Regions from separate parts of the Homo sapiens genome. Here region 1 is linked to region 2. Evidence: promoter capture Hi-C in 16 types of primary human blood cells and fetal thymus (Javierre and others, 2016). All regions are on one chromosome and are shown on one strand. Each heading gives the region's core, a stretch centred on a gene start or on the middle of the fragment in contact. The rest is flanking DNA. Distances are from core to core; before and after follow the strand shown. Region 1 holds the start of LOC105376479 (a long non-coding RNA gene). Region 2 holds the start of MAP3K8 (mitogen-activated protein kinase kinase kinase 8).

Region 1 (6,709 bases), core at 210-2,709, 150 kb after region 2:
TCAAGTGATCCTTCTGCCTCAGCCTCCCAAGTAGCTAGGACTACAGAGGTGTCCCACCATGCCAGGCTTGAAGACTTTAAAATTTTATATATTTTATTTCAATTTTTTTTGAGTTGTGGTCTCACTCTGTCACCCAAGCTGGAGTGCAGTGGCGTGATCAAGGCTCACTGCAACCTCCACCTCCCCAGATTCAAGCAATCCTCCTGCCTCAGCCTCCTGAGCAGTTGGGATTACAGGCGTGAGCCACCACACCTGGCTAATTTTTGCATTTTTGGTAGAGACGGGGTTTTGCCATGTTGATCAGGCTAGTCTCGAATTTCTGAGCTCCAGCAATCCACCCATCTAGGCCTCCTAAAGTGCTGGGACTACAGATGTGAGCCACCCCCAGCTCGGCCTAAGTTTATTTTTTGTTCCTAGGTATTTGAGAGGTGCAAGTGCAGGTTTCTTACATGTGTATTTTGCATAGTGATGAAGTCTTAGCTTTTAGTGTACCTATCACCTGAATAGTGAACATTGTACCCAATAGGTAATTTTTCAACACTCACCCCCTCCAACCCTCCCACCTTTTGTAGTCTCCAATATCTGTGATTCTATTCTGTGTGTCCATGTGTACCCACTCTTCAGCTCCCACTTATAAATGAAAACATTCCATATTTGACTGTTTCTGAGTGATTTCACTTAGGATAATGGCCTCTAGTTCCATCCATGTTGCTGCAAAAGACATGATTTCATTCTTTTTTATGGCTGAATAGTATTTCATGATGTGTGTATATATTATATATAATTATATAATATATTATATATTAGTATACATGTACATAATATATTATGTAATATATAATAACATTTAATATATTACATTATATAAACAATATATTATATTATATACATAATAATTATATATTATATATTATTATATTACTATAATATATAAATATAATATATAAATATATACTATATGTTATACTATGTATACACTATATATACTATATTATATTAATATATTATATATAATAGTTAAATATTTTATATACAATTATATGTACAATAATATATAATTATTCTATATATAGTATAATGATATATATATCATATTTTCTTTGTCCAATTCTCCATTGCTAAACACTTAGGTTGATTCCATATCTTTGCTATTGTGAATAGAGCTGTGATAAACATATTAGTGCAGATGTTTAGAAGACATTTTTGAATGTCACTGAGTGGGGATGCAGCCAGCATCTAATGGGTAGAGGTCAGGGATGCTGCTAGACATTCTACAAGACACAGAATTATCAGTGCCCTGTGAGAAAGAATTATTCAGCACTAAGGTTGAGACACCTGCCTAGATTCTAGGAAATACAATGTCGTAAGTTAGCCACTGGGAGGGTGCTAAAGCCCTCCAGGGACTAGTACAAGATTGAAGAGACCCTCACTGTTGAAAGCAGAGGGCATGTACTCCATGTCACACATTTTATGTAAGCCTCACAAAGTTTTTGCCTTCAAGAAAATCTAGAATTAGAAGATCCTTATTTATTTCCACAGTCCCTGGGTTCCACCTTCAAAGTATCAAGATTTGCTGATAGCTGATTATTGCCCCATAGACAGAGTTTTCTTTGTGATGCATCTGCTTATAACTTTTTTGGAGATTCAAGAGTTGCATAGGAAGTTTAGGGGCTGACTGCTTTGCCCACTGGGACTGTAATGTAGGATCCCCTTTGCCTTTTTTTTTTCCATCTATAATCAACAGAAATTTATTTGCTCATGGTTCTGTTGGCTGAGAAGTCCAAGACTGAGGGATCAGCATCTGGTGAGGGCTTTCTTGCTGTGTCAGCCAAAGGTCAGGAACCCTGTACAGGGACTGTGTAGACAAGGTGTGAGGCCAGTTTTCCCAAGGAGCTTGTATTGGCTCTATAAGTCAAGTTTGATTCCTTAAAGCAAATTTCACCATTCCAGTCAAAGCCTTGGTAAAATAACCAGTATCTCCAGTTGTGTCCCTTTTGCTGACATGTCAGTGAAGCAGCTATGTTGTCTGTGGTAAATACCTGGGTCCATCATCTTGTGCTAAGAAAATTTAGCACACAGACATACACAGGAGTTTAGGAGCAGAGATTTAATAGGCAAAAGACAGAGAAAGGAAAACAGCTCTCGCTCTAGTGAGAGAGAAGGGACTTCCATGAAGAAAAGACCCCCCCCTTTGTCTTATTCATATAGCAGCCTAGAAAGAATGCTGTTCTGGGACTCAAGAGGAAGTCACTTGGTTTTTCTGGCCTCAGTTTGCTCACCTGTAAGATGGGCTGGTGCAGCGGATGATCCCTAAGATCCTGCCATTGTGCCCTGATTCTGAGACTAGCATTATCAGGGAATCCATACAGCTTCATGCAGCCATTCTCTTGGGATCACAAAGGTTATGTATCTCCTTGTTTCACTTTAAAATTAGAAGATCTTGGAGATCATCAGTATAAAAGTCATACTGGTGTTTTCCTACCCTAAATATAATGCTCCTTACTCAGGAGAAGGGGGGACTGGGGATAACTTGAGGACAGCATTTGGTTCTGGGAATGAAGAGAGCAACAGGCCCCCCAGGGCAGCTCTTGCCTCTTCAGCCGAAGTTTGAGGCAGGTGACTGCCAGACCTCTTTCCCTGCTGGCCTCTTACCTCTCAACTCCAGAGAGGCATGGGGAGTAGGAGTGCCAGAGAAAATACAGGATGCTGGTTAAATTTGAGTTTCAGATTGACAACAATTTTTTTTTTGTATTAGATATCTTAAACATCGCATGGCTTAGTAGAAGCATATCTCAAATACTGCAGATGTATTTGCTAAGCCTGACAACCTTAGCTGGCAGGGGAACGGAAGAGAGCAAATGAGGAAGTGGGATCCCAGCTGGGACTGCCCCAGAGCACTGGGCTTTGGCCTTGGATCCCCTGGCGATCTTCCCCTCTCAGCGACAGGCAGCGAGGAGGAAGATCATTGGCTTCTCTTAGGGCCTGTGGCTGGAGGGAAAGTCAAGTTCAGGTGAGTGGGGAATGCTAGGGGATTTCCCTGGGGATCAGCAGGGAAGGCAGCCACATCCACACTCACTCAGAGCCGGCTGCTTCTAAGCATCAAGGCCTGATGCCGATGGTGCATGAGAGGGGCCCCTAGGGGCAGCCCCTGGGATCCCCCCAATGAAGGGCTGCTCCTGCAAATGAATGAATGGAGTGGGAGGCCACGGAGAACCTTCCAGGGCTGGTTGGCTGGGAAGTCCAAGCTTTTGCAACTGCAAGGGCCCTCAGCCCTGTCACACCCAGTGACCCCATTTGCTTATCAATACAATATTTTTTAAAAAGTCTTTTTACTATTTTGAAATTGCAACCCAAAATTTATTTTTAAATCTATGCAGTGCAACAACTGTGACATAAGGAATCAGTAGAGTCCATTTCTCTCTGTGAGGAATCTTCAGGAACTTAACCACTACAATATGTACTGACATAGGTATGCTGTGTTCATGATTTATATACTTCTGGGGGCATTAACATTATTAATCTGATTTTACAAAATTGTCAACAATTCTTGGCCAAGTTACAAACAACACACACAAAAAGTCTACCCTTGATTGACAACAAAATGTACGAGAAAATGTCATATACTTATAACCATGTTAATAAAAAGGCCTAATTGGGCATGATGGTTCAGACCTGTAATCCCAGTACTTTGGAAGGCTGAAGCAGAAGGATTCCTTGAGGCCAGGAGTTTGAGACCAGCCTGGGCAACATAGCGAGACTGCCATCTCTACATAAAATAAAATAAAACAAAAAATGCCTACATTTGTCTGCAAAATTTGTGTTTGGGCTGAGATCATTACCTGTGGGTTTTTCACCTGTATGAATGTTCAGCTGTATACTTGGAAATCGTCTAGGACATGGGATGATTTTTCACTTTACAGGGCTGACATAAGCAAAGTGGAACATCTGACCATTAAACTTTAGTAGTGTTCCCCCAATTATTATGATATTGGGGGAGTTATTATGATAACCCAACTATTCCTGACAGGGAGGAGGGAAGACAAGGGGCCAAGTGTTTATGGATTGGCTATTCATAGTGGCCAAGCATCACGTATAGCTGTTAACATATTTTTTTTATTCAAGCCTTGCAGCACCTCTAATTGGTGCATATCCTGGTATTCATTTTACAGATGGAGAAAGTGCGGCTCTGAGAGTTAGGTAGTGCTTAAGTGTGCACAGCCTGTACATGGAGAAGTATGAATTCTAATCCAGGTCTGTTTTAATCCACAGTCAGACGTTAACAACGATGTACTAATGGCGAAGGGAAAAAAGCAGCGGTTCCTGGTCAAATCTCCTCTAGAAACTCGAAGAAAGGGAAGGGGCAGGTGGTTTTGTTGGTCTTGTTTTGTTTTGCTTGGCATGGCTTAAGAGCTGCTCCTTCTGGAGGTAAGAATTAGACACTAGACCAGGTGATTTCTTGGGGTCGATTCTAACCCAATGAATTTATGTTTTTGTGAAAAATGTTAACTTTAAGAAATAATTTTCAAAAGTAGACACTTTGGACGGTCAATCACCTTTTTTTTTTTTTTCTGAGCTGCATATTTCTGATGTTTTCGGTGCACAAGTTGCCAGCAGGAATTCATCCCTCTGAACGTCTGTCATTTGGGTTTTGGCTTCTGCGTTTGTCAGATGTCCCAGGTGCCGTCAGGTGCTGGGTTGTGTCAGTGGTGACTGACCTGAGATGTGAGGTCTGCCTTCTTTTTGTTTGGGTATCAGTCCCAACAGCCACTTGGCCTCAGCGCTCTGTCACCAAGTTCTGCACTTGAAGTCTCTCTCTCTTCCCCAACAGGAAGTGGCCTTGGGCGGCCCAAGCGCTGTGTTACTGGGCTGCGGGCCGGTACTTGGGAAGAAGTCCTCCGCAGTTCAGCATCCCAGGATGCATCTAGCAGATTTGCTGCCTCATTTGAGGACTCAGGACACACAGGTCCCTCCACTGCTGTCAGCACAGCTCACCCACACCTGCTACACACCTGTCACTCCTGCAGCACCAACACCCCCCAGAGGAGCCTCCCAGGGGAGAAAATGGAACCACCAACAGGTTCTCCTATGAGAGCGTGGATCCAGAGAATATCCCTGAGCTTATTTCAAATATTAGTTCCAAAGGGCTAGAACTGCAGGGCTTAGAACAATCAATATAAAGATCGTGTTAAAATCTACTGGAAAATATGATTCAAATTGCAAAAGCTGAATTTTCATATTCTGCTTATCAAGAGTGTATTCAGGGAATCATGGGAGAAAATTTTTGCAATCTATCCATCTAACAAAGGTCTAACATCCAGAGTCTACAAGGGACTTAAACAAATTTGTAAGAAAAAAAGATAAGTGGGCAAAGGACATGAACAGACACTTCTCAAAAGAAGACATATATGTGGTCAAAAAACAAGTGAAAAAAACCTCAATATCACTGATCATTAGAGAAATTCAAATCAAAACCACAATAATGTACCTTCTCACACTAGTCAGAATGGCTATTACTGAAATGTCAAAAAACAACAGATGCTGGTGAGGTTGTGGAGAAAAAGGAACACTTTTACACTGTTGGTGGGAATGTAAATGAGTTCAACCATTATGGAAGACAGCATCGTGATTCCTCGAAGACCTAGGGGCAGAAATACCATTTGACCCAGCAATCCCTCTACTGGGTATGTACCCAAAGGAACATAAATCATTCTATTATAAAGATACATGCACACGTATGTTCACTGCAGCACTATTCACAATAGTAAAGACGTGGGATTAACCTGAATGCTCATCAGTGACAGACTGGATAAAGAAAATGTATATATAAACCATGGAATACTATGAAGCCATAAAAAGGAATAAGATCATGTCCTTTGCAGGGACACGGATGGAGTTGGAAGCCATTATTCTCAGCAAACTAATGCAGGAACAGAAAACCAAACACTGCATGTTCTCACTTATTAGTGGGAGCTGAATGATGAGAACACATGGACACTTGGGAGGAGCAACACACACTGGGGCCTGTTGTGGGTAAGTCATGGAGGGAGAGCATCAGGAAGAATAGCTAATGGATGCTGGACTTAACACCTAGGTGATGGGATGGTCTGTGCAGCAAACCACCATGGCACACATTTACCTATGTAACAAACCTGCACATTCTGCACAGGTACCCCAAACTTAAAAGTTGAAAAAAAAAATCAAGGTGTAGTTCACCCTTCCCCTGCCCCCCACTGCAAAATAAAAGAGCATATTCAGGGGATCTTTAGAATTTAGAGAGACTTTCAAAAGCTGCTTAGTACAATAACATTTATTGCATAAAGTGAAGCATAAATATTGGCATTGTGACTGTGGACTATTAAAAACGTACCCAAGTAAGCTGTGAATTTGGTTTCAGAATTCTAAATTAAGTAGCTTTGAATGAGATTTCTCCTAAAGCATTGGTTGTGTATTATATGCAGGAAGTCATTGGTTAGTTTTCTTCACATTTTATCTATTTACCCTTATTCTGCTGTATTTTTAAAAAATCATATTTGTTTTGTAGCTTTATTCCAACCTTTTGTTAGTTTCTGTGGCTCGGCCCCATCAGAGTTTTGTTTTCCCCGACTGCCATCTAGAGGCCAACAGGAGTAATTACAGACACTAGACTTCCCAGGTAGGAAAGGGTGGTGGAGACCGCAGGGCCATCAATTCATCTTTCCCGCTCTGCTGC
Region 2 (7,405 bases), core at 3,478-5,977:
GGCCAACACGGCAAAACCCCATCTCTACTAAAAATACAAAAATTAGCCTGGCATGGTGGCATGCACCCGTAATCTCAGCTCCTCCGGAGGCTGAGGCAGGAGAATCGCTTGAACCCGGGAGGCAGATCTTGCAGTGAGCTGAGATCGTGCCGCTGCACTCCAGCCTGGGCGACAGAGTGAGACTGTGTCTGGAAAAAAAAAAAAAGAAAGAAAGAAAAGGGAAAAAAAACCAGAAAAACTTTAATTATTTTTATTTTATTTTTTATTTTTGAAATGGAGTTTCACTCTTGTCGCCCAGGCTGAAGTACAATGACACGATCTCAGCTCACTGCAACCTCTGTCTCCCAGGTTCAAGTGAGTCTCCTGCCTCAGCCTCCCAAGTAGCTGGGAGTACAGGCATGAGGCACCACACCCGGCTAATTTTTGTATTTTTAGTAGTGATGGGGTTTCACCATGTTGGTCAGGCTGGTCTCAAGCTCCCGACCTCAGGTGTTCCCACCTGCCTCGCCTCCCAAAGTGTTGGGATTACAGGCATGAGCCACCACACCCGGCCAGAAAAACTTCAATTATATCTGAAATCCACTCACATTATCATAAGAAACTTACACATATCAATGAAAAAAAAAAGAGATACTGAATTTTTAGAATCCAATTTCAAATTGTTCACAATTTAAGACAATAATAATAGTTGTAAATGTATTACCTACGTGTCTGTACAGCTTCTCACCTGAAAGTTATTATCAAAAGTATAAAGAAGTTGTTGTTGAAACTCTTAATCTGTATAGCTGTTTCAACATGAAACCATAAAGAAAAAGTTATGATCATGAAATCAGGCTCAAGTTCCTCTTAACTTTAAAAATATCTCATTTAAAGCTTTATTCAAATTATCTACTTTCAATACTTTGTATTTTATTGTTTTTTTTTAACAAAAAACAACATATTTTCGCCAAGTGACCTATAGCTATGCTCCCAATTTATTGCAGTTATTTTATTCACAAAATTCCATATTTTATGAATATAAAAAACTGAGAAACAATGCCCCATATCATATTAATTAGTCTAGAGCACAATTGTGGTTACATCGGTTAATGGGCCAACAGGGTTACCTACCCATTGTTAATAATTTTCTTTCTGTGAGTAAAATAATTTGGATTTCCAAACTACAAATTACAAACCCATTAATGTCCCAACCTATGAGATGGAGCAAGCTTCTTCAGGTAAACTGCAATCGGTTACAGCCTTATTTGCAAATGCATTTTGCTTGCTTCAAACAGCTTCTAGAGAGCTGTTTCGTAATGTGCTTTAGGATCACTTCCAGAATAACCCCCTATGGTTGTGTGCACTGTGGCTCAAGGGACTTCTCATTGGTAGGTTTAAAACTCACTTAGCTCGCCCCTAGAAGAGCAGGATTGTTTTTGTAAGCCTGCATAAAAAACAAAAAGCCAGACCAGAAAAATGCAAGGAGTCTAGGCAAGGTGGCTCACGCCTGTAATCCCAGTACTTTGGGAGGCTGAGGCGGGCAGATCGCTTGAGCTCAGAAATTTGAGACCAGCCTGGGCAACATGGCAAAACCCCGTCTCTAACGCTACCCAAAATACAAAAATTAGCCGGGTGTGGTGGCATGCGCCTGTAGTTCCAGCTATCTGGGAGGCTGAGGTGGGAGGATCACTTGAGCCAGGGAGGTGGAGGTTGCAGTGAGCTGAGATCGCCCCACTGCAGTCCAGCCAGGGCGACAGATCCAGAACCTGTCTCAAATACATCATACATACATACATACATACATACATACATACATACATACATACAGGGAGTCCACAGACTTTTTCTTTCTTTTCAGTTGCTCTCTCCCTTTTGGCCTCCTTGTTAAAAACTCTACATACGTTTTCAAGTAAAACCTTCTAATTTACCCCAACAGATGAACCTGCTCTGGATTAAGCCAGAAGCAAGAGAGAACCCTGCTAGACCAGCCATTTCACCAGCTCCCTAAAATGCAGCTATATTTGGGAGACTTCTGTGTAGGAAGTAAGGCTAATAATGCAGTTCCCAGAAGATTAGGTGTGGTTTTAATGAGCTCACACAAGGCGGGTGGGGAGGGGAGTGGTTCCATGGTTCTATTTTTAAAACTCGTGTAAAGATCATCCTTTGTTGTCTAAACACGGCAGTAGAGAAAGAGACGTCTCTGTTTCTCACGTTACAATCAGAGGTAACAACCTGTGCTAACCTGGTTTCCAGCGAAAAGGCCAAAAGTGTACTGATAACTTCGGCTTCAGCTGAGACTGGGATAACCCGCTTGAGCCAGTGCCAAATTCCACCCATCCGGCGCGCAAGCGAGCGGGGCTTCTCCTCCCCAACCCCGGCCCAGGCTGCTTCTGCCGGGTCAGTGCTGCCGGGTTGGTGGAAGCTGCCTTCCCTCCCTCCAAGATCAGAAAGGCGGAGGGTTCAGGAAGGGGTTCTCCTCTAGGTGCAAGGGACTGCCTGGATATTTGGAGGGAATGGCAAAGCCCTGCTTCATGAGGTGAATGAATATAAATTAAATCGCTCTCGTATTTAAAATAACTTGACGGATGACAGTGCCCATTCAGTCAATCGGCCCTCGACGTTGGATTTGCTACCTGGGCTTGTTGTCTGCGAGTTAAGGTCCTGCAAAAAGCCCCTGGCTTGTCACCTCAACTAACCTATCTCCTCCAGCAATTCTCTCAATACATCCTCGGGTTGTATTGTAATTCATTTTCCATAGCAGAAATGTGGAGGGCTCTAGAGAAGGTACAAGGCAAATTTTTTTTTTAAATTTTATTTTTGGTTGGCCGCGGTGGCTCACGCCTGTAATCCCAGCCCTTTGGGAGGCTGAGGCGGACGAATCACCTGATATCGGGAGTTTGAGACCAGCCTGACCAACATGGAGAAACCCCATCTCTACTAAAAATACAAAATTAGCCGGGCGTGGTGGCGCATGCCTGTAATCCCAGCTACTCGGGAGGCTGAGGCAGGAGAATCGCTTGAACCAGGGAGGCGGAGGTTGTGGTGAGCCCAGATCGCTCCATTGCACCCCAGCCTGGGCAACAAGAACGAAACTCAGTCTCAAAAATTTTTTTGTTTTATTTTATTTTTTAAATTTGAGACAAGGCCTCGCTCTGTCGCCCAGGCTGGAGTGCCATGGCGCAATCATAGCTCACGGCAGACTCGAACTGCTGGGCTCAAGGGATCCCCCTACCTCAGCTTCCGAGGAGCTAGGATGACACGCGTGAGCCACCATGCCTGGCTAATTTTTAGATTTTTTGTAGAGACGGGGTAGCTATGTTGCCCAGGCTGGTCTCCAACTCCTGACCTCAAGTGATCCTCCCGCCTCGGCCTCCAAAGCGCTGGGATTACAGGCGTGCGCAACCGCGCGGAGGCAATCTAGAAACTGCAGAGGGAGCACGGACCTGGGCACTGGGAAGAATAGGGCGTGGACTTGGAGTGTGACCGCGTTTGAATCTGGGTTGTGCCTGGGACACCCCACCTCCTGGGCCGTAGGTGGGGGGGGAGAGAGAGAGAGAGAGAGAGAGAGAGAGAGGATGTCGACCTTACATGGCTCCTAGCTCTCCGCGCTCTAGCCGAATGCCTGGTTCCTAGTGGGTGCTTGATACGTGGGAAATGTAGGGGGAGGGGGTGGCGGGGCATTGGGAATGTCCCGCAGAGTGGATTTCGGGAGAGTGGCGCTTTTCTCTAGAACTCTCTTCCGGTTACACCTGGAGTAAAAGCTTGACACTCTAGAAGGAAAACCCCAGATGAGCAGCTAGGACTGAGGGTTAGCGGTAGGCGGGAGCGGGGAGATAGTACAAGTACGCTTCCTAATGAGGCGGTGCCGCAAAATAACCAATTTTAATAAAGACTGCAGAGAAGAAAACCAGGTTCTGCTGGCGGAGTGCACAGGCTCCCAGCCGAGCGCCCAACAACCAGGTTCCGGGCCCACCCTGCCGCAGCCTCTTGGAAATCTCTAAGTTGGAATGTGTGCGTGCGCACCACGGGTCACTGCCCTCTTTGTGTGTGAATTTGAAGCGAAATCTGGGCGAGGCGGGGCCGTGCTACTAGCAATCGGACCCACAGTCGCGGTTCCAAGAAGCCCCGAAGCTTCCCCGGCTTCCCGCAGCACTGCTGGGAGGGCACACGGCGCCTCTGTCCCCACCCCAGAGCGTGGGGCGCGCGGAAAAAGGTCTGGTGACTGCCCTCCCCGCCGCCCCCCGGGAGCGTGCCCTCCCGCCGGACCCTGGGACTCCAGAGAAGCGCCGAGGGCGCGAGTACACTAAGATATACGACCTTCCCTGGGGACCGGGAAGGGCACAACCACCTCTTGCAACTCCGCCACTAAGACGCCTTGGGTCACCAGGCCCGGGGGAAAACTCGTCCCCGTCCCAGGCTCTCGATTCGGGCCGCAGCTCACGTCCCGCGCTCCTCCCTGCGCGCCGCTCTGCTCCTCCCTAGTCCCGCCTCCAGCTCCGCCCGGGCGCCCAGAGGGCAAATGAGGGGCGGCGGGGTGGCGGGTGGGGGGGAGACGCGGAATTTCCCAGCGCGGGGGCTCTGGCTTACCCTGCAACCGGGCAGTCTCTTTCTGTTTACGGAGAGAAAGGGGAAATGGAAAAGTCGGGGAGGCGGTGGCTGGCGTCCGCTGCGCCGCCCCTGGGCAGGCTCAGACGCCGTGAGTCAGGGGCAGAGCAGGGCGGTCTGAGCGTGCGGGCGACGCGGGTCTCACTCGTCCGCTCCGCTCTGGACTGCGCGCCACGCTCTGGGGTCCGGCGCCCTGGTTCCTGCTTCTGCCGCTGCCGCCGCCGGATCCCAGTGGCCCGGCGTGCTCGGCTCCCACAGGCCTGCAGCCAGCATCGCACCGAACCTTCGGGGGGCCGCGGCTGGAGCGCTCGGCCGGCGTGGGAGCGCCAAGGCCGCAGGTAATCCAGGGTTGGGGGTCTCCGGCGTGTCTTTCGGGTCGCGTCCCGCCTGGGTGCCCCGGGGATTCCCATGCAGAAATGGAGGGTGCCCCCAGCAGAGGGGAAAACTCTGGCGTGGGAAGAGGTGGGGGCGTGCCCACAGCTGCGCTCGCGGGTCGCCGGCTGCACCAGGCACAGCTGGAAAGCACCTTGCGCAAGGGTCTCACGGGGTGCAGACTCGCGACTCCTCCCCCTTCCTCCTCCTTCCCGTATCCGCAGCGCCAGGGCAGTGCTGGTCTGGGCAGTGCGCGGGGAAGCGGGGACCCGCTGTCACTGCGCCTCCCGCTGCCGACGCCGCCTGGACGGCCGCACTCTCCCTGCCCGAGACCCGGTGAGTGCAGCTCGGAGGCTGGAGGACCCGATCCTCCCAAATGCTGGGTGCTTTGATAATTTATAAGCCTTTTAGGCTCCCTTGACTTAGAGAACCAGGAGGAAAGGAGTGGGAGTGTGGGTTGGCGGAGCCCAGAGACTTGTGAATGGCTGGAACTAAATTCAAGTTTGTAACCCGGACTCTATCCCATGACTAAAGAGGTCATAGCAGAACACGAAGGCTGGGCTTTTGGTCTAAGAAAGAATACTAGGAGAAAAAAAAAGTTATTTTCACGGAAGTTGTTTTCGAGCGATAGTGCATGATCAGGACTCTGAAATTTTTCTAGCTCTGGGCGGAGAAGGACGCCTAGGGATTGTCTCCATAGTTAACAGGGGAAGGCCACCGGCTGCCTGTAAGAGAGAAACGTTGCGATGCTTGTCTATTTCACTTTTGGGAAGACAAGATTAAAGGCTGCTCTTGATAAAAAACAGGGACAGAAAGGCTCTTGCAGTTGCTTTACATACCTGTGGCCTGAGTCGTTTGTGCCAAGGAGAGTGTAATCCACTTCCAGCTGACGCCCCCAGCTCTCTGCGACGGATTGAGGTTTGTGTGCAGGACGTCTGGCATACGGCCCATGAGGACTTTGTCGTGTAAAGCAAATGGGAACGTTGAGGCATGTAGAGGTTTTGAAGCAGAGTGTCGGTCCTTCCTTCCATACGCCTGAAACGCATAATCCGGGGCTTTTTGAGAGCAAAAACATAGTCAGAAATGTGCCCTGAGGGAGAATGTACTATTTTGGCACACATATGTATATATGTATATATAATTTTTAAATTTTTTTTGAGAGGGGGTTTCACTCTTGTCGCCCAGGCTGGAGCGCAATGGCGCGATCTCGGCTCACTGCAACCTCCACCTCCCGGGTTCAAGCGATTCTCTTGCCTCAGCCTCCCGAGTAGCTGGGATTACAGGCGCCCGCCGCCACGCCCGGCTAATTTTTGTAGAGACAGGGTTTCACCATGTTGGCCAGGCTGGTCTTGAACTCCTGACCTCAGGTGATGCACCCTCCTTGGCCTCCCAAAGTGCTGAGATTACAGGCATGAGCCACTGTGCCCGGCCTAAAAAAATATTTTAAATGAGAAATAACACAAGTAATAGTCATTCTTTGTTAGGCAGAAGCATATGCTGTTATGCTGGCCATTTTCATTCACACTTGCCAGGAAACACTCACATTTTGTTTCTGTATATGGAGGCAGCCAAGAGTATTATGTTAATGTTTAGGAAGAGAATTTCCTCGTGATTTTATTGCTGATTTCTGAAATAATTCAGTGTAACTAATTTTGACTGTATTTGCACATCTCTCCAATTCCAAAAGCTGGCATAATTTTCTGTTTGGTTAGGAAGTAGGAATTTTATGAGGACTTTTATTGTAAACTGTGTCAAGGGAAAAATCATCTTATACTAAACGTCTTTATTGCCAAACTAGAATACCTTCACAATCTGAACTTTCTCTAGATGGGCACAGATCATGAATAACTCAGAAACCATTAGCATATTGTGTGCTTAATTAAGGCTGGAAAGTGCTGAGGCTTTTTGCAGGCGCAGTTAGCAGGCGAACTGGTCAGCAGGGTTTCTGGGGAACGTAGATTTGCGTGACAGGGGCCCTGTGTTGCTAAGGAATTACTGCAGGCACTGAGAAAAGTCTCAGCGTCAGACACTCCTCCACCTCCCGGGTCCTGCTTCCCTCCCTCTCCCCTTTCCAGGCAACTCACAGTTTAGGGGTGTGGTTGTGTGTGTTCAAGCTCTTGGGTTTTACATATAAATGCCTGAGACTTTTCTGCAGGGTTTAAAAACTAACATCTTGTCTTACAGCTCTTTTAGGATTTGTCTTTTAGAATCTCCAGTCCTCACAGGAAAACCCCCCAATTAAAAAAATAAAAGAATAAAGAATAAAAAGAATACCACTACTACTATAAAAAAAAAAAAAATCCTCTAAAATTTGTCTTCCCAGATCAGCAGAGTGAATTTGAACTGTGTGGACTTTTTTCCTCTTTCTTTCTTGAGTCATGTTAGTACTGAGAACTTTTTTTTTTTCTGTCAAATCATCTGTTTGATAAATAAGTCCAGGAGACTTGGA

What was found. The method cuts DNA at HindIII sites, captures the fragments that hold promoters and counts their contacts. A CHiCAGO score of 5 or more calls a contact.
Region 1: a contact is called between a fragment that was not itself captured here and the fragment with the promoter of MAP3K8 in region 2, in 2 of 17 cell types (monocytes and megakaryocytes). The highest score is 7.6, in monocytes.

Annotation. Positions count from the first base shown.
Region 1 is chr10:30,584,777-30,591,485 of GRCh38, forward strand. It overlaps LOC105376479 (a long non-coding RNA gene), which reads left to right and starts at 2,910. Exons shown (of 4, transcript XR_930794.4): 1 at 2,910-3,010; 2 at 3,378-3,469; 3 at 4,270-4,425; 4 at 4,829-6,383. The HindIII fragment of the contact is 3,568 bases long and covers 1-3,243 here.
Region 2 is chr10:30,429,457-30,436,861 of GRCh38, forward strand. It overlaps MAP3K8 (mitogen-activated protein kinase kinase kinase 8), which reads left to right and starts at 4,728. Exons shown (of 9, transcript NM_005204.4): 1 at 4,728-4,922. RefSeq lists enhancers at 2,715-3,596, 4,268-4,407, 5,128-5,227, 5,518-5,567, 5,692-6,229 and 3 more and a silencer at 4,448-4,687. The HindIII fragment of the contact is 9,039 bases long and covers 4,109-7,405 here.